Regions from separate parts of the Homo sapiens genome. Here region 1 is linked to region 2. Evidence: promoter capture Hi-C in human tissues and cell types (Jung and others, 2019). All regions are on one chromosome and are shown on one strand. Each heading gives the region's core, a stretch centred on a gene start or on the middle of the fragment in contact. The rest is flanking DNA. Distances are from core to core; before and after follow the strand shown. Region 1 holds the start of OR6C2 (olfactory receptor family 6 subfamily C member 2). Region 2 has its middle 6.9 kb from the start of OR6C6.

Evidence for each region. The method cuts DNA at HindIII sites, captures the fragments that hold promoters and counts their contacts. A contact is called where the count stands out against the background at its distance.
Region 1: a contact is called between the fragment with the promoter of OR6C2 here and a fragment that was not itself captured in region 2, in 3 of the 25 tissues and cell types used here (H1 embryonic stem cells, adrenal gland and ovary).

The regions. Positions count from the first base shown.
Region 1 is chr12:55,439,329-55,445,638 of GRCh38, forward strand. It overlaps OR6C2 (olfactory receptor family 6 subfamily C member 2), which reads left to right and starts at 4,748. Exons shown (of 2, transcript NM_054105.2): 1 at 4,748-4,831. All of the region lies in intron 1 of LOC124902940 (a long non-coding RNA gene), which reads right to left. The HindIII fragment of the contact is 10,123 bases long and covers 4,661-6,310 here.
Region 2 is chr12:55,286,732-55,292,586 of GRCh38, forward strand. No RefSeq gene overlaps it. Among named protein-coding and RNA genes, the nearest start is that of OR6C6, 6.9 kb to the right of the region's middle. The HindIII fragment of the contact is 6,606 bases long and covers 1-5,855 here.

The DNA.
Region 1 (6,310 bases), core at 3,498-5,997, 150 kb after region 2:
TGGCAAGCTCTTCCTCACAGAATTTCAATTAGTAAATGTAGAAGGAATGAGGAAAATGATAAATCAGCATTAGCACACCACCATAATCATTGCTCCAAGTAAGATTTACAGATGAATGTTAAAGTGAATGGGTGAAAGTTTATATAGCATACTCACAGAGTATCAAAAAAAATATCCCAAATATTTTGTAATTAAAATGATCATTGTAGCATTATTCACAATAGTCAAAATATAGAATCAACATGTGTCTATAAACAAATGATTAGATAAAGAAAACATGATATATATATATAAATATATATACACACACAGTGAAGTACTAATTATCCTTGAAAAAGAAGAAAATGCTGTCGTTTGTAACAATGTAGGTAAACCTGGAGGACATTAGGTTAAGTGAAATAGCTCAGGCACAGAAAGATAAATATGGCATAATTTTACCAATATGTGGAATATTTAAAAAGTGGAGCTGATGGAAATAGAGAGTACAATGGCATTTACTAGGGACTTGGAAAATACGAGGAGTTTGAAGAGATGTTGGTTAAAGGATATAAAATTTAAGTTAGATAGGAGAAATAAGTTCAACAGATTTATTGAAAAAAATTGAAGATAAGTAAAGTTAAATGAAGCATTTCAGATCAGCAAAATCCAAGAGAATTCTTTATCAACTGAACCACAAAAAAAGACATGAAAATTAAAAGATGAAGGAAGAACTGAGGAATTGAATAAATAAGGATTCATATGTTGGTAAGTAAAAATGAATATTGATCATCAGATTAAGTATAATATCTGGAGAAGTGTAAAAATATTTAAAATTAAAATGAATTTTAAAAATTATGAAAAGCTTATTTACACTTATTTTACATGTTGATTGTACTCTTCTCCACATATTTTTCCTCCTGGGTCCCAAGGATAAAAGGAACCCTTATCTCAGACATGCCCTTTTCATCACAGAGTGGAGAGAGTATGGGTAAAACCACCTGGTGATTCTTGGGTAAAATTAACTCAGATTACAGAAGGTAATGACAATGATTTGAGAAAATTGAATTCTCACAGGGAAGAACAGTGAATATTTAAGAATGATGAGATATTCTACCACATTTAACCCTGTTGGTCACAAATATTCACTTCCCTCTTTGCTGCATGCAAAACATATTTATCCCTCTCTCAGGGAGACAGTCCAAAGGTCACATCAAGTCAGCCATTGTGCTCAACTTCCAGGATCTAATGGCAATTTCTATACTTTAGAGCCACAACTGCCTTCTCTAAATTCAGACAGTTGATTTGTCTAATGCACACACCTTACAATTACTAGAGGAACAGGAAAAAAACAATCTAAGAAACACTATCATTCAGAGAGGATAGGAATTGGGAATACACAGCAAACACTGTCAATACCAAGTCTAAAATAGAACTTGATAGGCAATGCAGGGGCCTCTTACTCTGTAGCTGTGGGAAGCCTCTTGACTGGTTCCCAGTTACGTTCCTTGAGAATAAGACCCAGCCACTTTTATTTCATGGCTCTTGAGTCACAATCTGAGAGGTATCTGCTTTTCTTTTTTACTTTGCCATATCCAAAAACGTTCTAAAGAAATTTTAAAGAACATTTATTGGGGGAACCCCCCCTCCGATAATTCAACGTTATCTCAGATAGGTTCTTTTCTATTTCCCTAAGTGTCAGCCGGTCTGAGAAATAAAGGGAAAGAGTACAAAAGAGAGAAATTTTAAAGCTGGGTATCTGGGGGAGACATCACATGTCGGCAGGTTCCGTGATGCCCCTTGAGCTGCAAAACCAGCAAGTTTTTATTAGTGATTTTCAAAGGGGAGGGAGTGTACAAATAGGGTGTGGGTCACAGAGATCACATGCTTCACAAGGTAATAAAATATCAGAAGGCAAATGGAGGCAGGGTGAGATCACAGGACCAGGGCAAAATTAAAATTGCTATTGAAGTTTCGGGCATGCATTGTCATTGATAACATCTTATCAGGAGACAGGGTTTGAGAGCAGACAACCAGTCTGACTAAAAATTTACTAGGTGGGAATTTCCTTGTCCTAATAGGCCTGGGAGCACTACTGGAGACCGGGGCTTATTTCATCCCTTATCTGCAACTGTGAAAGACAGATGTTCCCAGAGCGGCCATTTTAGAGACCTACCCCTGGGAATGCATTCTCTTTCTCAGGGCTGTTTCTTGCTGAGAAAGGGGAGTTCAGTGATATTTCTCCTATTTGCTTTTGAAAGAAGAGAAATATGGCTCTGTTCCACCCGGCTCTCAAGCAGCCAGACCTAACGGTTATCTCCCTTGTTCCCTGAACATCACTGTTATCCTGTTCTTTTTTCAAGGTGCCCAGATTTCATATTGTTTAAACATAAATGCTTATGAACAATTTTGCAGTTAACACAATCATCACAGGGTCCTGAGGTGACACACATCCTCAGTTTATGAAGATGACGGGATTAAGAGATTGAAGTAAAGACAGGCATAGGAAATCACAAGAATATTGATTGGGGAAGTGATAAATGTCCATGAAATCTTCACAATTTATGTTCGGAGATTGCAGTAAAGACAGGCAAAAGAAATTATAAAAGTATTAATTTGGGGAACTAATAAATGTCCATGAAATCTTCAAAATTTATGTTCTTCTGCCATAGCTTCAGCTTGTCCCTCCATTCAGGGTCCCTGACTTCCCTCAACAAACATTAAAGAAAAATAAAACTCCCTTGGGACTAAGTTTATTTCTTAGCCTTCTTTTTTCTTTTTCTTTTTGTCTACAGACTGTGGAGCAGAAAATTGATTTACATTCAATCTCTCCTACCCAGGCTAACCACTCAAAAACATGATCCTCTTTTAACATGCTGGATTCTTACTTGTATATATCAATAATCTCACTCATTATTATTTTTAAGTGCCTATTTACACTTAATTACAGATACTTTAAACTTAAGAGATTTTTAAGGCAGAGCTATGTCCTTCTGAAAAAGTCCCACACCCAACAGAAATTACATACTTAATGTTAAGATATTGAGTTAATAGATTCAGAGGCTGAAACAAATAATGTGGTAGCAACATCACTGGCATGTTCTTGCTGTGAGATGGTTTTAATATACCTCAAAGAATGACTAAATTTTATTTTTAACTTGGGGAGGTGAGATATGGTTGGATCTTCAAATCTAATTCCCAGTTGTTTGTGGATCTTCTCTATTCCCATTCATACCAAGTGCCAAATAGGCCAATTCTTTTATCAGTTTCTTTATAGCAAACAGGTTAATTCCAAATTCCCATTCATAAAGCCACAGATGCTTTTGGTATATATCTACCTTTCAGATTATCTCAGGTGATGACTTTACTAAAATTTTCACTACTGCAGCATAACCTAGGCTGTTGCTGCTATATTTTCACTTCAAAGGAAGTCTACAGGTCAAGAAATAAATTTCTTTTAAATGGAGGGGCCCTGAATAATCATTAAAAAATCTACGAAGTGTACATAAAAACATTCAACATATTCTATAGACAATTTTAATAGTATAATTAAGTTTAACAATGTTGATGGAGCAATGGTAATCTGCAAAATTAAATGAATTTCTAATATCATTATATCAAAAATATGCTATGTATAAATAATATGTAAATATTATATAACTATATATTATATATAATTGAAAATAACATAGAACTACACAAATACTTGACAATGAATCTAATGATGGAAGCATAACATACACAAAAGAAACAATAAAATCTTATTGATAAAAATTTACATAGAGGCTATGACTTTCATATCTCTTTGTTATTTAACCTTAAGCAATACTTCTGGCCAGCCCTCCAAACCTAATTTTGTGCACTTTTAAAGCATTCACAGTCAGTTTGAGATGTTACTTTTAAATACGCTTATTTAAAAATCCCAGAAACAAACATTACAAAGCTGGAATGCATTGAAACAGTGGTTCTTAATGGTGTGAACTGTTTTTGAAGGTCATCCATGTAATGATGGTCTTACAAGACATTGTCTGTAGACAGAATAAATAATATATCTGACCTATGTAATTTCTTCTGTTTTTCAAATGTAAATAAGTTATCCTATGATTAACACAATATGAACTGATTTTACAATATCTCTGTATACATAGTAACTTTCATCCACACTGATTTCCATATATGGTAGATACTTCACCAAATTATATTATGGGGGATTAGATTAAGCAAAATATTTTGATTATTAAAAAACAGACATACTCATATCCTTATAAAAGTGTATTAGGAAATAGAATCAGACTTGTGCATTATTTTTCTCATTAGCATGGGCACCAGGCCTCTATCTGATGCTATTGTTCTGCATTACTCTCTCAAAAGAAAGTGTCTCTGTTGCCTCCTATTTTAGTTGCTTTGCCAAAGTTAATTACACAGAAGCTTCATTAGTGATGTTTGAACCTGGCCACTAAGGATCCTCTATTTATTCATATGATCCCAGTGCACTTCCAAGAGATAGAGCAGAAAAAATAAATATTTTGGGGATAGAAAAGCTAACTCTCTGCTCTTCTGAAATCAGAGGAAATCTGTTGCTTTCCTCCCTTACATCAAAATTTCTTACCATTATGACAGAGTCCAAGGAAAATATTTCCAAAGTGTAAAATAAGGAAGTTTCTAAAAAGAGTGTTTATTGTAGCGTGAAAATGCAAAACTAGGAGACCTCAAGATCCTTCAGGAAGTACCTGAAGGTTGATGATCAAGTTAAACCAGTACAAAGTTACAACTTCCTTAACACAACACAGTTCAACCCATTAGGGAGCTGCCACCTGAAATCGTGAAAAATTATCAAAACAGTAAGTATTTTAAGGTAGGTATGACAATTACTTTCTCATTTGAGAGATAAGAGAAAGAAATTTTTGTTGGAGTACTCTTCTGTAATTTTGCTAGTTTAAGCTTGTTTCAAATTTTTAATATGGAAAACTGTAGCGAACATGTTTTTAAACTATTAACAGATCTTTGACAAGACTAAACATCATAGCTAGGACATATTTATGCATTCCTGTGTAGTCACACATGCAGTAGTTTGTGGTCACCCATAAAATATAAAGGACACACAGAAATATGCTTCCAAATCCTTGGAATATATACAAAAAAGCATATTACATTGCTTATATTACATTGCTTATAATGTTAGCTTTTTTCTAAATTGTAAATATTCTCTTATGGTTAAATGTCTGGCCAGAAATAATTCAATCCCTCATATTTATTAGTTCAACAAAAATGCTCCCTTAATGTCTAAGTGACACTAAGACCGAGAGACCTTTGTGTTGTTGCTCATGATGCACTGCACTGCACAAGACGATCAAGGCGTAGAAGACTATTTCACTAAGATAGCTTTTTCCTAGTGTGTGTTCAAAGGGAGAGGCATGAAAACGAAGATGACAGAAAGGATGTCAATTCTCAGTTACTTCATAGTTTATGCTGCTTATTGCACTTTTCATGACCCTGAAGTAGTTGGGAGAAAATTAGTTCTTAAACCAAAATCAAAGAAAAAGGCATAGTAAATTACTAGTACACTACTTTGCTTGTATAAAAGCAAAACTTAGAATACATTGACTTTATCTAACAAAGTCAAAAATGGTATTTGCATGAAAGAGGATTGAGGCAACATGAAAAACCTCAGAATATTTGAAAACAAGGAACTGTTTTTCTTTCCTGGAATAAGATGATGAATAGTGTGAGAGTTTCGCAAAGAGACCAGTTTTGGGGGCAGTAAGGTAATCAAAGGCAACAGTTTTAGTTTTATGGATTTCTTGAAAAACCTTGAGAGTTTCACTAAGAAGTACTAAGAAGTAAGCATATGTGACAAGCTGACTGTGTCTTACTGGCCAGTATGCTCTGTTAGCATCTTCATTCTCATTATGCCAGATTCGTACCATCTCTCTTAACAGATTTGTATTAGGCTTTCTGCATAAGTATGTATTTTCCTGTAATGGTACCTTTAAAGCAAGATGGGCCTTGCCATATGTATCACATGGGATTTTATGAAGCACATGTCCATAAGAGTAAGGAATTCATTTTCCCAGGCCCAGAAGACTGATGATATTTGCAGTAATTTTTTATACGCAAAGCAGGTGAAAAAGCATTCATATAACAAACTAATTGGTATCTTATAAGGAGATACAATTTCATTGAGTGATGGAGAAATAGCAAGAACCCTAGAGACTGTGTTGTCAGATAAGACATATGTTTGTAGCTACCATTATAAATAATTAATGCAGGCTAAGGACTGGAAGCAGTTATTGCTCCATGAACAGAAATAAACTCATTTCCTCTTGCTGAAGAA
Region 2 (5,855 bases), core at 1,863-4,362:
TTCACATAACTGAACCATTTAGTTTGATCAGTGTGAAACCTGATTACATTCCATATTCTGAATTGCCAATCCCTGAAGGCCTCTATCTTCCTATAATGTCTTTTAGAAATAAGCTGATCCAACAAATGGGAGTTAATTGGAAGGAATTTTTGCCCTATGTCTTGGTGACTCTACTTCTCAATCCTATTCTCCAATGCAGTGGAGCTTCAAAAATTGTCTCTAAAGGAAAAGAAAAAGGATACACATGGAGGATCTCAATTCCTCATTTGCTTGCTCATTTTAGTGACCCATTTCAACCCCAAATTAACTTATACTCTTTTGTATGCAGTAGGCTCCAAGACTCAACCTTCTTTTGAAGAATGGAAGGGAAGCAAAAGTCTGAGAACCAGAGATGAAGCTTGAGGAAACTAGAACTAGAGATTTCAGCTCCAAGCCCTACAGAGAATGATTCAGGAAAGCTCAGTGGGAAATGGCAGTGACTTTCAGTAATTTTTGAGAAAGTTCTAACCAATAGTCTTAGCAGTAAAGTATGTAGTTCTCAAACAGTTAATGAGAAGTTACTATGGATCTCACCTTGCTCTCCGGTTTGACTATAAATACCTCTGGAAAATAACAGCCTCTGCTTCTCTTACAACTTCCAAATTTTGAGCAAAGTACTCTCACTGAAAAACTTTGAGATAGAACTATACTGATCAGGGGATTCTGAAAAATGGCCTCCCGGTATCTCCTCTGCATTTACAGAACAATGAAAAAGGTCAAATACGGGAATACTGCACAATCATAAAAAAAGAATTAAATCATGTCTTTTGCAGCCACATGGATGCAGCTGCAGGCCATTATCCTAAATAAATTAATGCAGAAACTGAAAACCGAATACTGCATATTCTCACTTACAAGTGGGAGGTAAACATTGGGTACACATGGACATAAAGATGGGAACAATAGCTACTAGGGACTACTAGAGAGGGAAAGGGAAGTGATGGTTAAAAAATGACCTATCAAATACTATGCTCACTACCTGGGTGATGGGATCATTTGTACCCCAAACCTCAGCAACATGCAATTCACTCATGTAACAGACCTGCACATGTACCCTTAAACCTAAAATAAAAGTTGAAAAAAAAGAGACATATGTGGTATTCAGTTGGCAACATAGAATTCAAAGTAGCTTCTTTGAAAGAACCAAAGCCATGGTTTCAGAAATATCAAATCATTGCTTCTATCACTGGCTCTACCCAAAGAGTGATATCAGTGTTGGAGACATGCTAGGAGAAATTGAAATGATCTAGGGTCAATGGTCTCATTGTCTGAAGTGTTATCCGAGCTCATTGTCTCACAACCAAGAAAATTAATAAGTGTGGACACAAGGGTGAGGTTGGAGCGAAAGCTTAATAAGCAAAAAAAAGTTCTCCACAGTAAAAAGGAGGCCAAAATGGGTTGCCGTTTTTACAGTTGAATCCAAATTTGGATTCAATTTATCCCCAATTAAGTGTTTATAGTTTCACTGATTACAGACTATAGGCGGACTTCTTTTTTTCTTTTTTCTTTTTTCTTTTCTTTTTTTTTTTTTTTAAGATGGAGTCTCGCCCTGTCACCCAGGCTGGAGTGTAGTGGTGGTATCTCGGCTCGCTGCAACCTCCACCTCCCTGGTTCAAGCAATTCCCCTGCCTCAGCTTCTTGAGTAGCTGCGATCACAGGCGCAAGCCACCACGCCCGGCTAATTTTTTGTGTATATTTTTAGTAAAGACGGGGTTTCACCATGTTGGCCAGACTGGTCTCAAACTCCTGACCTCAGGCAATCCACCTGCCTCAGACTCCCAAAGTGCTGGGATTACAGGTGTGAGCCACGGGGCCCAGCCAGGCAGACTTTTTAACATTCTCTGTAGTTATACTTTAACTAATTTTAATAGTGAGACCCTTATAAATGAATACAATGTTTCAATGCAGGATTACTCTTTTAATCATCAAAACAATAATGTTGTTTTCAGGGGTAGTGGGGTGTGAAATACCTAAAGATGAAGCTTTCAGAAGAAATGGAAAATAGGACTCTAGGAGTAGAACATGGAAAAAAAAACATTTTTAATAATTTAAGAGTCTCGGAATCATTCAGTGATAATACTAGTAATCACAATTTTGGTAATAAATAAAAGTAGCTTGCAAATTTGGATATTAAATGAGAATTTCATATTGCTCATGAATTGCTATAAACGTTCAAAATATAAGGCATTGTATGCCATTCTAAAGACTGTCACCAACAACTGGAAGTAGATGCATTTATGTCATGCTTACAAAGAGCTGGAAGTATTGATCTTAAAACCAGAAACGAGAGGAGTGGGATAGAGAAAAGAAAAAATGTGGTTCGATTACCTTCCTGAAGCCAAGTTGAAATACCTACACAAAGAAATTGTTCTTTTCCTGGCTGGAAGCTTGCTGAATGATTGAATGTGCTGACCCACACTAGTGCTGCTCAAGGAGAAGACTGCATTATTTCCCATGATCAGAATTACTTAACATAAATTTGCTATGTAGAAAAGGAACTAGAATTGAGAAAAAGACTTTGAGATAAACCTTATATTAACCAGTGGTTTTAATGGCATTGTGTTGATAAGGAACAACTCTAGATTTGTTTTCATAACAATTTTATAAAACCATTGGGTCTTATATACAAAAAGCACATATTTATTATATGCAGTATTTATTCAGCAAAGTGATTCATTTTGAGTCAATACACATTTTAAAAGCTTTATTGAGGTGGTATGGAAGAAACTGCATAGATTTAAAGTATACAATATAAGCTTCGACACGTGTAAAATATTTTATATTTTCTTTCTTTCTTTTTTTTTTTTTTTTTGAGACAGAATCTCGCTCTGTTGCCCAGGCTAGAGTGCAGTGACACAATCTCAACGTGCATGAACTGCAACCTCCGCCTCCCAGGTTCAAGTGATTCTCCTGCCTCAGCCTCTGAAGTAGCTGGGATTACAGGCGTGCACTACCACACCCGGCTAATTTTTCTGTTTTTAGTAAAGACTGGGTTTGCCATGTTGCCCAGGCTGGTCTCAAACCCCTGGCCTCAAATGATCTACCCACCTTGGCCTCCCAAAGCGCTGGGATTACAGGTGTGAACCACAGTGCCCAGCCTTATTTTATATTTTCTAAGAATTATATAAAGCTGAAATCATCACTGCAAGTACAATATTGAACATATCCAGCACTACCAAAAGTTTCCTAATGCAACATTGTATCCCTGCTTACTATACCTCTGTCACTATACTTCAGGAATCACTTACCTGCTTTATGTCACTGTAGATTACATTTCTATTTACTATCACATTTTCTAGAATGTTATAGGAATAGAATAATGCAGTATTCTTTTTGACTAGGCTTCTTTCACCCAGCCTAATTATTTTGAGATTCGTCTGTACTACTGCCTATGTTAACAGTTTCTTTTTTTTTTTTTGAGACAGGATCTTGCTCTGTCACCCAGGCTGGAGTGCAGTGATGCAATCTCAGCTTACTGCAGCCTCCACCTCCCGGATTCAAGCTATTCTCATGGCTCAGCCTCCCAAGTAGCTGGTTGTCTTTCAACTAGTAAATTCTATCTGAGCATTTGCAAGGTCTAATCTAAATCAAAACTACCTCATGCATCATCAAGGATAGAGTGAGAGAATTACAGATCATCTGCTATTAATGCTTTCATTCTCAGCAATTTTGATTTTGTACAATAACCATTCCCTTTCAAAACAGATAATTTGTTATATGAAAAAAGTTATATTTGGAATCATTAGAAACATTACAACTGAATATTTAATTTTTTCTTAATTTTCAAGGTGCCTATTTGATTGAAACAGAACCATAAAAATACTTTATTAACTGTCATCTACATGCTTAAGATGGTATCATAGCTATCACTTCATAATTTGTTAGCAATGCATTATTAAAACTGAGTGGTAAAATAAAGGAATTGAACATAAACTAAGATTTGATATAGTACTGTGGTAAACAAGAATAGCTTTTGCCTGCTTTTGTCTACATACAGGAAACCAGAGAATGAATAAAGATGATAATAACATTCCTACGTCAATAAGAAATATAAATCAGTTCTGTTCATACATTTGAATGTCTTAGATATGTGATCATGACAATGATGACAATGATGACAATGACAAAAAAAGATGAAAATGGTGATGAAAATGACACAATTATGGTCCTGGGGATGAAAGTCTTACACCATTAACCAATTACATTATCTGAGGAAAGCTATCTGAGATCATGGGTCCTGAGTTTCCTCAGAGATAAATGAATACATGGAAGGATACTTTCAGACTGAAAATCAAGTGATACTACAATTTTATATTATGAAGATATAGTCTAGATTTTCAGAAAGTGGAGATGAGATTTGTATACAGAATGAGAAGAATTAATGTCTAAGTATTAGGTTGTTTCAGAACTCCTGAAAAAAATAAATCTCGTTTAGTTGGGATCAAATCTCTCTCTCTCTCTCTCCCTCTGTGTCTCTCTCACACTCTCTTCTCTTTCTCTCTCTCCTTATCTCTCCCCACACTGTTTTTATCCAGATGCATGAATATAATAAGATTAAAACTTGTGGGCAAATTGTTTATCTGAAGGACATGAAAGGATTATCTTAATTCAAAACCAAAATGCAATAGTCAGAATTGCTGTATGCTGTGGAGTAAAATGAACTTCCTTAAAATCATTTACTGTATATGTGGTTGGGAGTGAAAATAGAGAATTAAACCCAAACCCTCCCATTGAATTATACTCACAATCCAAAAGTTTATTAAAATATCTAATTTCTTTCTTGTAAATATCTTTGACTCTTTACCTGTATTCTAGTCCCACTGTCACATTTATACACTAAGATTTAAAATTTATAAATAGTTTAAAACAAAGGCCCCCTCACCTGCACCCTGATAATAAGACACCCCATATTCCATATCATTTCCAAGAGTAATCTCCCTAAAAACAAGAAGTTAACATTAAATTTTTCATCTTAAATACACTTTCAATGACTTCTGTCTAGTTGGAAATGTCAATGAGATTGTAGCCTTTACTTGACATTTAACATGCAGGTTATCTACAATAACCTGGGGTGCTTTTTTTTTTTTTTTTTTTGAGATGGGAGTCTCACTTTGTCACCCAGGCTGGAGTGCAGTGGTGTGATCTCAGCTCACTGCAACCTCCACCTCCCGGGTTCAAGCAATTATCTGCCTCAGCCTCCTGAGTAGCTGGGATTACAGGTGTCCACCACCAAGCCCAGCTAATTTTTTTGTATTTTTTAGTACAGACGGGATTTCACCATGTTGGCCAGGCTGGTCTTGAACTCCTGACCTCGTGATCCACCCACCTCAGCCTCCCAAAGTACTGGGATTACAAGTGTGAGCCACCGCACCCAGCCTCCTGGGGTGCATATTAAACATAGGCTACATTAACTCTATCCCAGAAATACTGACTCAGAAGCAGTAAAAATGATAACTCGAAATTACATTTACAAAATATCTAGGTCAAGCTTGTCCAACTCACAGCCCATGGGCCATATGTGGCACAGGACAGCTTTGAATGTGGCCCAACATCAATTTGTAAACTTTCTTAGAACATTGTGAGATGTTTTTGTGATTATTTTAAACTTCATCAGCTGTCATTAGTGTTAGTGTGTTTTATGTGTGGCCCAAGACAATTCTTCTTCTTCCACTGTGGCCCAGGAAAGCCAAAAGATTGGACACCCCTGATCTGGGTGATTCTTGACAGTCAAACCTTTGAAAATTATTGATATGATAGATTTAAGTCCGAAATACTATCCTGGCAAACAGGGCCCTTTGTGCTTTCACCCTTCAACC